2 separate regions of the Homo sapiens genome follow, and region 2 is linked to region 1. The links are contacts of gene promoters, found by promoter capture Hi-C in blood cells and fetal thymus (Javierre and others, 2016). All regions are on one chromosome and are shown on one strand. The core of a region is centred on a gene start or on the middle of the fragment in contact, and the rest is flanking DNA. Distances in the headings are between cores, read along the strand shown.

Region 1 (6,943 bases), core at 1,715-4,214:
GGGGTGCTCTGGCCCTCAGTCTGATCTTAAGGTCTTCATGGCCGGGCCACAGCAGCCTTTGCAGCCCAGGTGCCTGTACCCCTCTCACTCCAGCCTGGCATCCTGGCCCTTCTTCATCTAACATGACTTATCTGGGTCCACAGGGTGGCCTTCATCTCCCCCCATCTTCCTGCAATGTACCCTCTCTTCAAAAATCTCTGCAGAAATCTCCCTCTCTGGGTGCCCATTGTTAGGATGGCCTGGCCCCATTCACACAGACTTCCTGGGGCTCACAGTGACGCTTCCTCATCACCTCCTGCCCTGATGGGACCTCCACAAGCAGAGGCTGTAGCATCTTCCCCTGTAGCACCTACCCAAAGCCCCGAGGATGGGCACAGGTCTGACCACGGCTGATGTGGATATTTGTGGGGGCCCTGGGAGCATGGAAAGCTTGGGTGATGGGGATGATGGGGATGGAGATTTGGTCTATTCCCCCCCACCTTCTAACATAATGCGTGCTTATTTATTGAATTTGTTGCTTGTCTATCTCCTAGGATGTAAACTCTGAAAAGGCAGGATTTTGGCTTTTTATGTTCACTGGTGTCTCTCTAATGCCTAACACGGTGCCTGGCATGTAGAAGGTGCTCAAGAAATATCTTGAGTGAAAGAATGATTGAATGAATGATGGTGGGTAGGAAGAAGAGAGGAGGTGGGGAGTAGAGAGATGAGTGGGGGTGGATGGAATGAGAGGAAGGCGGATGGGAGGGAGGCACAGACTGGCATTTGCTGAATATCTATTATAGGCCAGCCTTATGCTGTAGTGCTTTACTATAGATTACCTGAGGTGAAATATGTAAAGTGCATTGGTTATTGCTATGCCAGGCACTGTACTATGAACTTTACATGGATTTTCTCATTTAATCCACTCAACCACCCCTTGAAGTGGGTATGGCTATTTTCCTCGTGTTACAGATGAGGAAATGTACTGGGTGAAGTGCTTTGTCTGACATGTTAGAGCTGGGATGGGAACCCTAGTCGGAGCCTAAACCCAGGAAAGAAAAAACTGGAAGGACAGGTAAGGAGGGAATGGGGTGCGTGTGGGTGATTCCGTGGTCTTAGTTTGAGAATCCTTGCAGGGAGAAGGCTACATGGAGATCGGTGTGGGATTCATCCACCGACCCGCAGAAACCTACCCTCCAACGCTCCCCGCAGGCTCCGCTCCGTGGCCCCACCTCCTGAGGCCCCGCCCTAGGAACCTCACCTCTCGAAGCCCCACCTCCCCGAGGCCCTCCCCTCTTGTCCCGTCCCACTCACCTGCCTCCTGGACGTCTCCCCAGCCGGTGGCCCAGCAGGCGGTGCCGTGCACGAAGCGGTGTGAGGCGCGGGGCAGGCAGACAGGCCACACGGCGGGGCCCAGGCTGGCGGGTGAGGCCAGGCGCAGCAGGGCCAGGTCGGCGCCCAGCTCCACTTGGCTGTAGTTGGCCGGCACCACGATGGCGGCCACTGCGCGGGTGTGCGCGCCGTCCAGGGGCCCGTCCTGGGAGTGCACGCCCAGCAGTACCGACCACTCGGCCGCGGGCTCCAGCGTCCCATTCCTGCGCTCGACCGGGGCAGTAGGAGGTTAGGTTGACCCTATGGAGGGGGCAGACCCTCGTTGGGGGCAGGGGCTCAGAGCCAGAGGGGCAGGTGCTATCCGATCCAGATTTGGTGCTGATACTCCTCAAAGGGGAAGAGCAAATCCGATTTGGAGCTGGTGGTGGGGGGGTCATTGGAAAGATGGGATTCAGACCCGGATATTGAGTGGAGTGGTGGGACCAGTCCGGCAGCCTTGCCCCACTCGGAACCATGATGCCTCGAATAGCACCTCGCTTTGGGGACAGCTTGGCTCCAAATTATCCTTGAGGACGGAAGTGGGGCGGGAGGAGGGGACCAACTGCGGGGGCGGGGGCCAGCTTTTGGCGGAGAGGGGCCAGGACCAGGGCGAATACTCACGTCATGAAACAGTGAGCAGCGGAGAGGACCCAGGAGGGGGCGATGAGGGAGCCCCCGCAGATGTGGCCACCTCCATGGTGCAGGCTCACTTGCCAAGGCCAGGTGCCCGGCTGCGCGTTTGAGCCCCCCACGATGCGGGCCGAGGGCTCAGGGCGCCCGCAGTCTGCAACGGGGAGCCGTGGAAGCCAAAGCTCCCCTCGGGTTCCCCACTCCAGAAGCCCAGGTAACTCAGGACGAAGGCCCGTCCTCCACCCACTTCAGTTTGCCCCTCTGAACAAAGAACATAGAGGACCCAGGCTTGTCTACATTTCTGGTCTTTTCCACCTCCCTCATGGCCTGACCAGCCTTAGCCTCCTTTAAGGTCTGAGGGTGCCAAGGCCTCTTCCTTACCCAGATCTTCAGGTTCTTCCTGGGTAGGACTGAGAGCTGGGAGCCAGAGGGGAAAGAGAGGAGGACACTTGTGACTTCCAGGCCTGCACCGCCCAGCCCCACTTCCTGCTCTCCAACCCCCGACCCTATCTTCCCACTTCCCTGTCCGTTCAGCAACCCCTGCCAGCACCCATGCCAGTCCTCTGGTCTTTTCTGCCTCTGCACGTGACTTTCCCCCAGTCCGGCTACCTTACCTGAGTCCTGGAAGGCTCCTGGGATGGGACTGATGACTGGAAAGACAGAGGTAGGCAGGAAGAGGCTGGCGACTCGCACTCAGTATGTGCCCTCCCTGACTCCCTCCCCCAGCCTCCTAGCCTCCGTCTCCCCAGGGCACCCAGGCCTCCCTCTCCCTCCTCTGATACATCCTCGCCTTCTGCTGCCTCACTTCCTTCTCTCTGACTTCCTGCTCCCCACACAGAAACCAGGAATCCTGCTCTCCAGCCCCCCAGATGCCAGGACCCAGGCCCTTTGCAGCCACTCTTGTCCCCTGAGGTTACCAAGCATCACAAGGGGGAGGAGCAGGTGCCGGGCCATGGCGCTAGAGTCAGCGGAGGCAGAGCCAAGTGAAGGTCTGCTCCCTGCAGGGCTCTGTCACTGCCCAGGCAGCCCGTGACTCCTGATGGTCCCAGGGGCAGCCCCACCCTCCCTGGCTGGAGCCCATCTCTGGGAATCTGAGAGGATCTGGGGCTGGAAGGGGGAAGCTGGGGAGCCTGAAGGCCCCACCCAGAGCCCTGCGCACATCTCATGTCTCTGGAGGCCCAGGGTGGGGGTGGAGGACAGGTGTCCTAGCTCCTGGACACCTGTTGGGTGGGAGAGGGAGGGATGAAAAACACTGCAGGCAAAGGTCAAAGAGGAGGACAGTGTTCTGTGTCCTTGGTGAGCAGTGGCCCTTAGGACAGGGGAAGTGGCCCCTCACGGGCATGACTCATCGGAGACCTCACCTCTGTTTGGGGTGCGGCTGCCCCAGTGGCTTGGCCTTTTCTTCTCACACAGCTCTGGTTACTGGAGCTGCTGGCCAGGTCTGGGACAGGAGCCCTAGGGAATTCAATCCCATCCCAACAAAAGGATCACAGATTCCAGCAGGTTGGGCAGGGCATAGGGACCCTGGGAGGGGGCTGGGCAGGCTGGCGAGGCTGAAAAAGCCTCCACCCTGCTCTGTGTTCCAGTGACAATGCTCTTAGCTGCCCTGTCACTTACTCTGTGTGACTTTGGGAAAGTAACCCAACCTCTTGGTGTGTATCAGTAAGAGCCAGTTTAAGGGACATATGACTTGGCCGAGCACGGTGGCTCACTCCTGTGATCCTAACACTCTGGGAGACTGAGGTGGGAGGATTGCTTGAGGCTAGGAGTTCAAGACCAGCCTGGTCAACATAGCAAGACCCCATCTCTACAAAAAATTAAAAAATACAAAAATTATGAACTGCAGGGCGTGGTGGTGCACGTCTGTATCCCAGCTACTCGGGAGATGAGGTGGGAGGATTGCTTGAGCCTGGGAGGTCGAGGTTGCAGTGAGCTATGATTGTGCCACTGCACTCCAGCCTGGGTGACAAAGCGAGACCCTGTCTCAACAACAACAACAAAAAGAAAAAAAAAAAGAAGAATAAGAAGAAGAAAGAAACATATGGCTCTTCAAAGAGGAGTTGAAGAGAGTTTAAGGAAGAAACTATTTATAGAAGTGTAGGCAGGGTCAAAGGAAACCAAAGAGGCTGGGTGGCTCACGGCTGTAATCCCAGCACTTTGGTAGGCCGAGGCGGGCAGATCACCTGAGGTCAGGAGTTCAAGACCAGCCTGGCTAACTTGGAGAAGCCCCATCTATACTAAAAATACAAAAATTAGCCGAGTGTGGTGGAACTCACCTGTAATCCCACCTATTAGGGAGGCTGAGGCAGATAAAAATGCTTGAACCCAGGACGTGGAGGTTGCAGTGAGCCAAGATAGCGCCGTTGCACTCTAGCCTGGGTGACAAGAGCGAACTCCGTCTCACAAAAAAAAAAAAAAAAAGGAAACCAAAGAGGGATGGTAACGCATCCTGGGGCCAGCAATAATAGAGAGCCCTTGCTACCTGCTGGCCTGAAGAGGCAGAGAGGGGGCAGTTACTGGAACCCAGCAAGAGCTGCAGCTATGGAAGAGATAGCTGTTAGGAGCCGTGGCCTTCAATAGAGAAATGCAGCCTTTACCAGCAGAGAGGGAGTGGGGAAAGAAAAATCCCCATCTCACTCTCATCTCATCCTCTCTATTTTTAATTAAACCAATTAAAAAATTTTAGAGACACGGTCTCACTCTGTCACCCAGGCTGGAGTGCAGTGCTGTGATTATAGCTCACTGTAACCTCGAATTCCTGGGCTTAAGCGATCCTCTGGCCTCAGCCTCCTGAGAAGCTGGGACTACAGGCACGCACCACCATACCCAGCTAATGTTTTTTATTTTTGTAGAGATGGGGTCTTATTATGTTGCCCAGGCTGGTCTCAAACTCCTGTCTCAAGCGATCTTGCTGCCTCAGTCTTCCAAAAGTGCTGGGATCCTCCCATCCTCTGATCACCCCCTGGCTCTTTTCATTGAAACCTCCCAGAGGCCAGAGTTCAAGGGAGACCATTATATGGTCCATAAAGGTCACTCTTAGGGAACAAATCAGGGTGGACAGCAGAAATGCAGGGTCAACCCAGGAATATTTACACATGTGTATCTATCTTCTTACTGATAATATCAATTAATAATAATATTGGTCTATGAGTCTAGTTGCCCTAGAAAACAGGCCTAGGCAAAGCCTGCATGCTTGTGCTTAATTGGGAGGTGCAATCCCAGGGTGGCAAGATTGAGGGAAAATGAGAAGTGAGCAGGAAGAGGGAAAATGCAAATTCAGCCACCCAGCAACGGACTGGGCTCAATTGATAAACCTGCTAGCCTTAGCCTGTCCACAGGAAACGATGGAGGTAAATTGAGTCTTAACTTCAGATTTCTTAACAATGAGAGCCTCCTCAGGCATTTGTTTAACTTGCTGCTTGGGTAGCTATTTGCCCTTCAAAGGATAAATAACCAATCATTTAACCAAAACTCAGAAAAATGAGGTAATGGGCAAAGGTAGGAAAGAAGAGAGTGCAAGTGTCATTGACGCAAAACATGCACGCCCTGGAGACCCTCACCGATACATTGCTTGCTCCAATTTAGTGGTTAATAAACATTTTGGAGCTGGGCGCGGTGGCTCATGCTGGTAATCCCAGCACTTTGGGAGGCCGAGGCAGGTGGATCATGAGGTCAGGAGTTCAAGACCAGCAGCCTGGCCAACATGGTAAAACCCTATCTCTACTCAAAATTAAAAAATTAGCTGGGCATGGTGGCATGTGCCTGTAATCCCAGCTACTCAGGAGGCTGAGACAGGAGAATGGCTTGAACCCAGGAGGCGGAGGTTGTGCTCAGCTGAAATCGCACCACTGCACTCCAGGCTGGGTGATAGAGTGAGACTCTGTCTCGAAATAAATAAATAAATAAATAAAATTTTGGGGCCAGGTGCAGTGGCTCAAGCCTGTACTAGTGCTTTGGGAGGCCAAGATGGGAGGATTGCTGGAGGCCAGGAGTTCTAGACCAACCTGGGCAGCATAACGCGATCCTGTGTGTGGTGGTGTGCACCTGTAGTCCCAGCTGCCCAGGGGTTTCTCCATGTTGGTCAGGCTGGTCTCAAACTCCTGACCTCAGGTGATCCACCTGCCTCGGCCTCCCAAAGTGCTGGGATTACAGGCATGAGCCACCGTGCCCAGCCAAGACAATGATTCTTAACCCTTTCCCCAACCCAGCAGACATGAGGAGTAGGACTTGCTCTGCTAAATAGCACAGACGTTGGCCAGGCGCGGTGGCTCACGCCTGTAATCCTAGCAGTTTGGGAGGCCGAGGCAGGTGTATCACCTCAGGTGAGGAGTTCGAGACCAGCCTGGCCAACATGGTGAAATCCCGTCTCTACTAAAAATACAAAAAATTAGCCGGGTGTGGTGGTGGATGCCTGTAATCCCAGCCACTTGGGAGGCTGAGGCAGGAGAATCGCTTGAACCCGGGAGGCAGAGGTTGCAGTGAGCTGAGATTGCACCATTACACTCCAGCCTGGGCAACAAGAGCAAAACTCCATCTCAAAAATAAATAGATAAATAAATAAATAAGTATAAAAAAATAAATAGCACAGAGGCTCGCCAAAGCAATGGATCTTATGGGAGGAAGGAGAACATTTTCTTGTAGGGAGACAGATTGGAATTTCTGGAGGAGCAAGTGCAGTTTGCAAAAGCTGCCCAGGTGATTCTTATGGTTTCACCACTCTAAGATGCCCTTGATTGCAACTAGCAGCCAAGGTAAGGAGGGAAGCTCAAGCAGGAGTCTCTCTCTTCCAGGTTCAAGGACAGAAAATAAATTTCTCCTTGGAGGAGCCAGGTGTGCCGGTGCATGCCTGTAGTCCCTGCTACTCTGGAGGCTGAGGTGGGGGGATCCCTTGGGCCCAGGAGTTCGAGTCCATTCTGGTTGGGAGATCATGTCTCTTTACTTGGGTATAATAAAATCTTTCTTA
Region 2 (6,943 bases), core at 2,275-4,774, 150 kb before region 1:
GGCCTCCCAAAGTTCTGGGATTATAGGCATGAGCTACCACGCCCAGTCCCTTTTTTTTTGTTTGTTTGTTTTTTGTTTTTTTTTTTTTTGTTTGAGACAGGGTCTCTATCTGTAACCCAGGCTGGAGTACAGCAGCATGATCTCGGCTCACTGCAGCCTCGACCCCCTGGGCTCAAGCGATTCTTGTGCCTCAGCCTCCCAAGTAGTTGGAACAGAGGCACGTACTACCATGCCCAGCTAATTTTTTTTTTTTGAAACAGAGTCTCTCTCTGTCACCCAGACTGTAGTGCAGTGGCGCGATCTCAGCTCACTGTAACCTCCACCTCCCGGGTTCAAGCAATTCTCTGCCTCAGCCTCCTGAGTAGCTGGGATTACAGGCGCCCGCCACCACACCCAGCTAATTTTTGTGCTTTTAGTAGAGATGGGGTTTCACCATCTTGGCCAGGCTGGTCTTGAACTCCGGACCTCGTGATTCACCCGCCTCGGCCTCCCAAACTGGCCCAGCTAATTTTTGTATTTTTTGTAGAGACAGAGTTTTGCCATGTTGCCCAGGCTGGTGTTGAACTCCTGGGATTGAGCAATTGGCCCCGCCTCGCCCTCCCAAAGGCCTGAGCCACCATGCTCCACCCACAATTCTTTTCCTTCCTGGTTGAGGGATTGTACTCCTCACCTTTCAATTTGGACCGAACCTTGTTGGCCGTCTTCTTGATGTCTGCAGTGAGATCCTCCAGCTCCTGTTTGGTCTCTGAGGGGAGGGCGAGGGCAAGTGAGATGTCTGGGTGGGAACCCCAGGCCCCTTCTCCTCCCACCCCACAGTCACCGGCAGCCACACTCACTCTCATCTGGGTTGGGTGCGGCCAGGATGGCGCTATGCTGTTTTTTCACCTGCTCCACATCCTCCGACAGTTTCTCAATGCAGCCCCGGATCTCTTCCACCTGGAGCAGAAAATCGGCTATACCCAGCCAAGCTGTCAGGCCAAACAACGGGTTCCAGGGGAACCAGCCAGGGTTCAGGGGAATGGACCAGCCCCAGAACGGCTGATAAAAGGCCAGGGAGGGTGCAGGAGCAGGGAAGTGGGGGACAGGGAAAAGGAAGTTGTCGGTGGCTAGGGGCTGGGTGCCGGGGCTGCGGCTGGGCGGTGGGACTAGGGGCTGGGGCTGGGTGCTGGGGCTGGGGCTGGGTGCCGGGGCTGAGGCTGGGCGGTGGGACTAGGGGCTGGGGCTGGGTGCTGGGGCTGGGGCTGGGGCTGGGGGCCTTGGAGGCCCATTACCTGTTCAAAGAACTCATCCATGAAGTGGTCCCGATCCACGTGGACCACCTCCTCTTCATCATCACTGTCTTTCGCCTGGGGACAAGGAAGGCTGAGTCCATGAGCAGGCCCTACCTGGGTCCCCAAGGCTGGCTCTCCAGCTCTCCCACCCTCTCCCTGCTATGCACACACAGGTGCTCCCAGCTCTAGGCTCAGAGGAGGGGTCCTGGGAGGGGTCCCATGCAGGGTAGATGGCAAAGGCACCAAAAGTGTTTGTCAGCCCAAAGGATTCCTTAGAAGGAATTGGAAAAAGACCCCCTCTCAGGGTGGATGTGGCCTTGGGGGCGCAGAGCCAGCCTTGACCAGCCAATAGGGATGATTTCAATATTTCAACAACGGCTCAACGTCAGGCTTGCAGTAACTGACCCTGGGCTCCATGAAGGGTCCTGGACTAGAGTCCCGGGAGCCTGGATCTCCCTACTGTTCCTGCTCTCCTGCCCAGATCTCACTTTACTCCTTCTCTTCCTCTCCTGCCCCACCTGACCAGACATGTCCCCTGTGCAAGGTCACTTCACTGCCAGCGGCAGGCGCCAAGTTGAGCAAGCAGTGAGGGCTGGATAAGAGATACGGGCAGCACCCCGACCTCCCTCGCGCCCTGTGCCCCCCTCTTCCCGCCCACTCTCCCTCCCCTCCCAGCCGGCTCTCCCTCGCAGTGGATTCACTTGCTTTCATCCAGCCCCTTCCAACTTCACACCCACCTACTCTTGCTGGCTTGGATTTCCCAGTTGCAACCTGCAGCTGCTCAACCCTCCACCCGCAGGGCTCAGAGACACAAAGAGATTTACCCACCCACAGCACCACTGCCACCGACAGACAGACTCGAGACACAGACAGAAGAGCTGACACCCAAGGCACACAGGAATAGGCCCCCCCGACACCCACACGGAGATGCACTGATGCTGGCGTTCACCCGCACGCAGACTCACAGCTGAGCCGCACTGACATGTGTGGACACACTGGCTTTCAGCTGCACCCCTGAGGACATTTGGGAGGGCTCACTGGGCTTGTTCTTCCAGCTTCTCCGAGCCTCATGTCTGCACACACACTCAGAGCTGGACAGGAGAGGCTGTAGGGGAGGTGCCCTGTGCTACACACACCTGAGTCCTTCTCTGCTTGGGACAGAGGTCTGACAGCAAAATCTGAGTCCATCAAGCTTAATGACATCTGGAGCCCTGATCAGCCCCAGTGGAAATGTATACAGAGTTCATTCTGATTTCCAAAAAGAACCCAGCCAGAGCTCAGACAGAATCCAAACCCCAGAGGCTGGGTGAAATCAAGACAGGATCCAAACAGCATCCACCTGGGGGTGTACTCAGTTGGAATCCAAAAAGAAGAGCTTGCCAGGGTCCCAGCGGAACGCAGACAGGGCCTAACAGAAACCAGACAGGCTCAGACTGAACTAGCCGAGGCTCACACGGATCCCAGACAGATCCCAGACAGCTCAGATTGAACCTAGACAGGGCCAGATGGGACCTAGGTGCAGTCCACACAGCCAAAACTCAGGATCAGCAGTGCCCCACAGCCCCAGGAAAAGCCAGCACAGCCTGGGGGGCCTCCAGCTCCACGCTCCTGAGCCACCCCAGCCTCCCTGCTAAGCCCAGCCCAAATGGAACTCCAGGGAGTCTTCACACAGACGCTGGGCCCACACTGTGTCGGAAAATGTGTTCAGCACTTGTGTTGAATTTCCAGACAATCCCAACCATCCGCCTGGAAAGGGAGTTTCCTCTGTCTTGGCTCACAGCTGCCCCCAGAAAGTGGGGCGGCACAGGTGGCATAAGTTGGGGACCCTGAGAGGCTCTGGGATGCTGGGCTCACCTCTGAGGACCCATCGGCCTACCATGATGCTCTTCACTTTCTCTGTCCTCAAAATCCAGCTGTGCTACAAGGCCTCCTTCCCCTAGAGCCAAAAGCCTTCCTCTGCCCTTTCTCTCCCTTCAACCACTCACTCAGCCACCAGCCTCACGCAGGTCATGCGGCCTCTCCCTGGCCCGGGTGCCTGAGGACTTTCCTGTTCTCTGTGTCTCTCCCTTCCCCATGCTAATGTTAGGAAGTCTTTCCTAAAATCTAATTTCAATCTCTCCTGTTGTTCTTGGAGCCACCTCCCTTAGGTTCATCTCTGGAGCACCCTGGGCTACCTATTTGTTTGCCCTCAAGACAGGAAGAATGATAGAAGGCCCAAGTGTGGTTTATTTGGTATAATAAATACAAAGAGAGCTGGGAGCTAATAATCCTCTACCATTTACAAACACTTTTACATCCATAATCCGTTTTGATCCTCAGCACCACCAGCCCTGAGAGAAAAGCTGCATAAACATCATCGTCCCCATTTCACAGATGAGGGAACAGGAAGCCAGGGGGGTAAAAGGAGAGTGACTTGCCCAAGGGCACCCAGGCCACATAGGGCCAGAAAACCATGGGCATCCAGCCCCTCAAAGACCGCTGTTAGGCTCCAGACTGGGCTACCTCCCCCACTGACTTTCCGCTCCCAGTTACTTTCCCTCTCAGTGAGCGCCTGCTAAGTCCCAATCTGGGGAAGGCTCTGTGTCCGGACAACCTAGCAAAACAAGAGCACTTGATGGTATTTTTTGCGTAAGTCTTACATTCTTGTTATCTCATTTAATCTTCATTAGGACTCTGTAAGGACCATTGGCCAACATAATTATACTTATGCAAATATTTAGATGATGTTTTACAATGTGCCAGGCACTGTTCTATGTGCTCCACATATATCTATCCATTTCATTCTTACAACAGTCCCCTTGGAGGTATTATTATAGCCCCCTTTTATAGATGGGGAAACTGAGGCATAGAGCTAAATAACTCAGGCCAGTTGTAGTGGCTCACGCCTGTAATCCCAGCACTTTGGGAGGCTCTGGTGGGAGGATCACTTGAACCCAGGAGTTCAAGACCAGCCTGGGCAACATAGCAAGATCATGTCTCTACAAAAAATACAAAAATTAGCTGGGCATGGTGGTGCGCACCTGTAGTCTCAGCTACTTGGGAGGGTGAGGTAGGAGGATCCCCGGAGCTCAGGAGGTCAAGAGACTGCAGTGAGCTGTGATTGTGCCACTGCACTCCAGCCTGGGTGACAGAGCAAGACCCCGTTTCTTAAAAAAAAAAAAAAAAGAACTTGCCCCAGGTCAGCTGTTAGAAGACCATTTGGCTCTACCCCTGAGCCTAGTCTCTGCATTTGCTGAGTGGTAACAATGCCTACCACCGGCTGATTCCATGTTACAGACAAGGAAACAGGCTCAGAGAGGTTGCCTGACCTGCCTAAAGCTTCACAGCAAATGAGGCCAGAGGTAGGACCTGAACCCAGGACTGTCTGGCACTAAATGTCAGGCTCTCTCCCTTCTGTCCTGCTGACAGATGGCAGTCCCTCCTGGTCCTAAAAAGCCCACTCTGCCATGTCCTCAGGACTGCTGAACTCCTGCAGCCAGGACAGAAAATCAGTAGGAGGGGCCCAGGGCTGCAGGAAGAGCTTGGACAGGAGGCCATCCCTCCCAGCCTCCGTCTGTCTTGCTGTGTGACCCCAGGCAAACTTAGACTCCTCCCTGGGCCCCAGTTCCCTCATCACTGAAATGAGCAGACTGGTGCAAGTGCCCACCCTGCTCTGAAGGGCCCTCCGTGCTCTGAGTGATGCATATTTAGTAATGAGTACAGCATCCATTTCTGGAAGAAGTTAGGCCAGCCAAAAAGAAAGCAGGCTGTGGGCAAACCAGACTACCTAGGAAAAGATGATCAAATGTGCCCCAGTCTACTTTATGGTGGCCTCAGGTTACAGGTGAACGATTCAAGCCTCAGTTGCCTCATGTGCAAATCGAGGATGTAACATATATGTGCTGATTACCACGAGTTGGGTCCTATTACAAGTGCTTTGCATTTCTTTTTTTTTCTTTTTCCTTTTTTTTTTTTTTTTTTTGAGAGATGGGATCTCACTATATTGCCCAGGCTGGTCTCGAACTCCTGGGCTCAAGAGATCCTCTCTCCTTGGCCTCCCAAAGCGCTGGGATGACAGGTGTGAGCCACTGCACCCAGCCTGCATCTCTTGTTTAATCCTCACGACCACTCCATGAGGTCATATTCTTATTCTCACTGGACAGATGAGGAGGTGGAGGCGCAGAGAGATTGGGTAACTTGCCCAAGATCACACAGCTGATGGGATGACTCAAACTCAGGCACTCTGCTCTACAGCGCACAGCTCCTTGAGCACTTGAGAGGGATTGAATGAGAGAGTGCAGTGCCCCTGAGCCCCTTCCAGAAGCACCTGGGGACTGCGCACATCAGATCCAAGCCTCCAGCTGCAGCCTGACCTCCTCAGGGGCCCCCTAAGTCCAGGTCTTCCACACCAGAGCCACCACGGGCCTTGTGTGTATGTCGATGTGGAGCGACGGCAAGGACAGATACAGAAGCGGAAGGAGGAGAGTGACAGTGAGAGCCAGCAAGTCAGTGACCAGAGAGACAGATGGTGAGACGGTGACAAAAACACAGAGGCGGCAAGAGACTGGAATTGGGTGACAGAAAAGTCAGAGAGAGTGTGCGTGTGTGTACGTGTGTGTGTGTAAACATATGCGTGCCCCAGCACTGACACACACGGGCTTCCCATGCTCCTCAGGGGTGCAAGCATCATCGTTTGATCGGAGGCAGCAGCCTCCCCCTGCGCCCTTTCCCCCACCCTCTGCTTCAGTCCATCTGTCTCCCTGGCTGGGGCCTCTCCTTGCTCCCTCCCCCTGAGCAGCCTGGCCCTCTCACCCTGACCTCTCTCCTCCATCTTTCCTGCCTTACCCCCTGCCCCTTTCTCATCCTCCCTCTGCTTCATGGAGTCATTCATTCATCTAACGGATGTGTCTGATTTGTGCCAGGTACTCTTCTGGGTGCTGCTGGCGATGTGGTGGTGAAGAAGACAGGCGAGGAGGGCCTGCCTCCAGGGAGCTGGCATTCCAGTGGGGGAGGCAGACAATGGGAGGTGAACAAGACCATTTCAGATTGTGCTGAATAGCAGGAGGGAGATAAGCAGAAAGATGGAATTGAGAGACATGGGAATTGGGGGGGATTGTGGAAGGATTTCTACAGGACAGTTAGCAGGGCTTTTCTGGGGAGGTGACATCTGAGCTAGGTCCTGAAGGAGCCAACTGTGCCACAGTGCTGGGGAAACAGAATTCAGGGCAGAGGGAACAGCATGCTGGGCAGAGGGAACAGCATGCGCGAAGGTCCTTGGACAGGGGTAAACTTGTGTGTTTGGATAGCAGAAAGAAGCCCAGTGCCAGCCGAGCGCGGTGGCTCATGCCTGGAATACCAGCACTTTGGGAGGGCGTGGCGGGAGGATCATTTGAGGCCAGGAGTTCAAGACCAGTCTGGTCAACATAGACCCCATCTCTACAAAAGCAAAAAGAATTAGCCAGGCATGGTGGTGCGCATCTGTAATCCCAGCTACTCGAGAGGCTGTGGCAGGAGGATCCCTGGAGACCAGGAGGTCAAGGCTGCAGTGAGCTGTGATTGCACCGCTGCACTCCAGCCTAGGTGACAGAGGAAGACCATGTCTCTAAAAACATTTTTTTAAATATAAATAAAGGCAGCCCAGAGCAGCTGGAGGATATGGATCCATCACCCAGGGTTCGTTGGTCTCTGCACCC

The links. Contacts are between HindIII fragments. The CHiCAGO score rates a contact against its expected background, and 5 or more counts as called.
Region 2: a contact is called between a fragment that was not itself captured here and the fragment with the promoter of PRSS36 in region 1, in 15 of 17 cell types (monocytes, neutrophils, M0 macrophages and 12 more). The highest score is 11.7, in monocytes.

Annotation. Positions count from the first base shown.
Region 1 is chr16:31,147,102-31,154,044 of GRCh38, forward strand. It overlaps PRSS36 (serine protease 36), which reads right to left and starts at 2,965. Exons shown (of 15, transcript NM_173502.5): 1 at 2,898-2,965; 2 at 2,595-2,630; 3 at 2,362-2,397; 4 at 1,972-2,134; 5 at 1,294-1,574. The coding sequence starts at 2,934. RefSeq lists enhancers at 1,599-2,136, 2,137-2,672, 2,673-3,209. The HindIII fragment of the contact is 9,446 bases long and covers 428-6,943 here.
Region 2 is chr16:31,000,258-31,007,200 of GRCh38, forward strand. STX1B (syntaxin 1B) reads right to left here. Exons shown (of 10, transcript NM_052874.5): 2 at 1,272-1,346; 3 at 837-936; 4 at 671-745. Among named protein-coding and RNA genes, the nearest start is that of STX1B, 6.9 kb to the right of the region's middle. RefSeq lists enhancers at 230-730, 731-1,231. The HindIII fragment of the contact is 2,126 bases long and covers 2,462-4,587 here.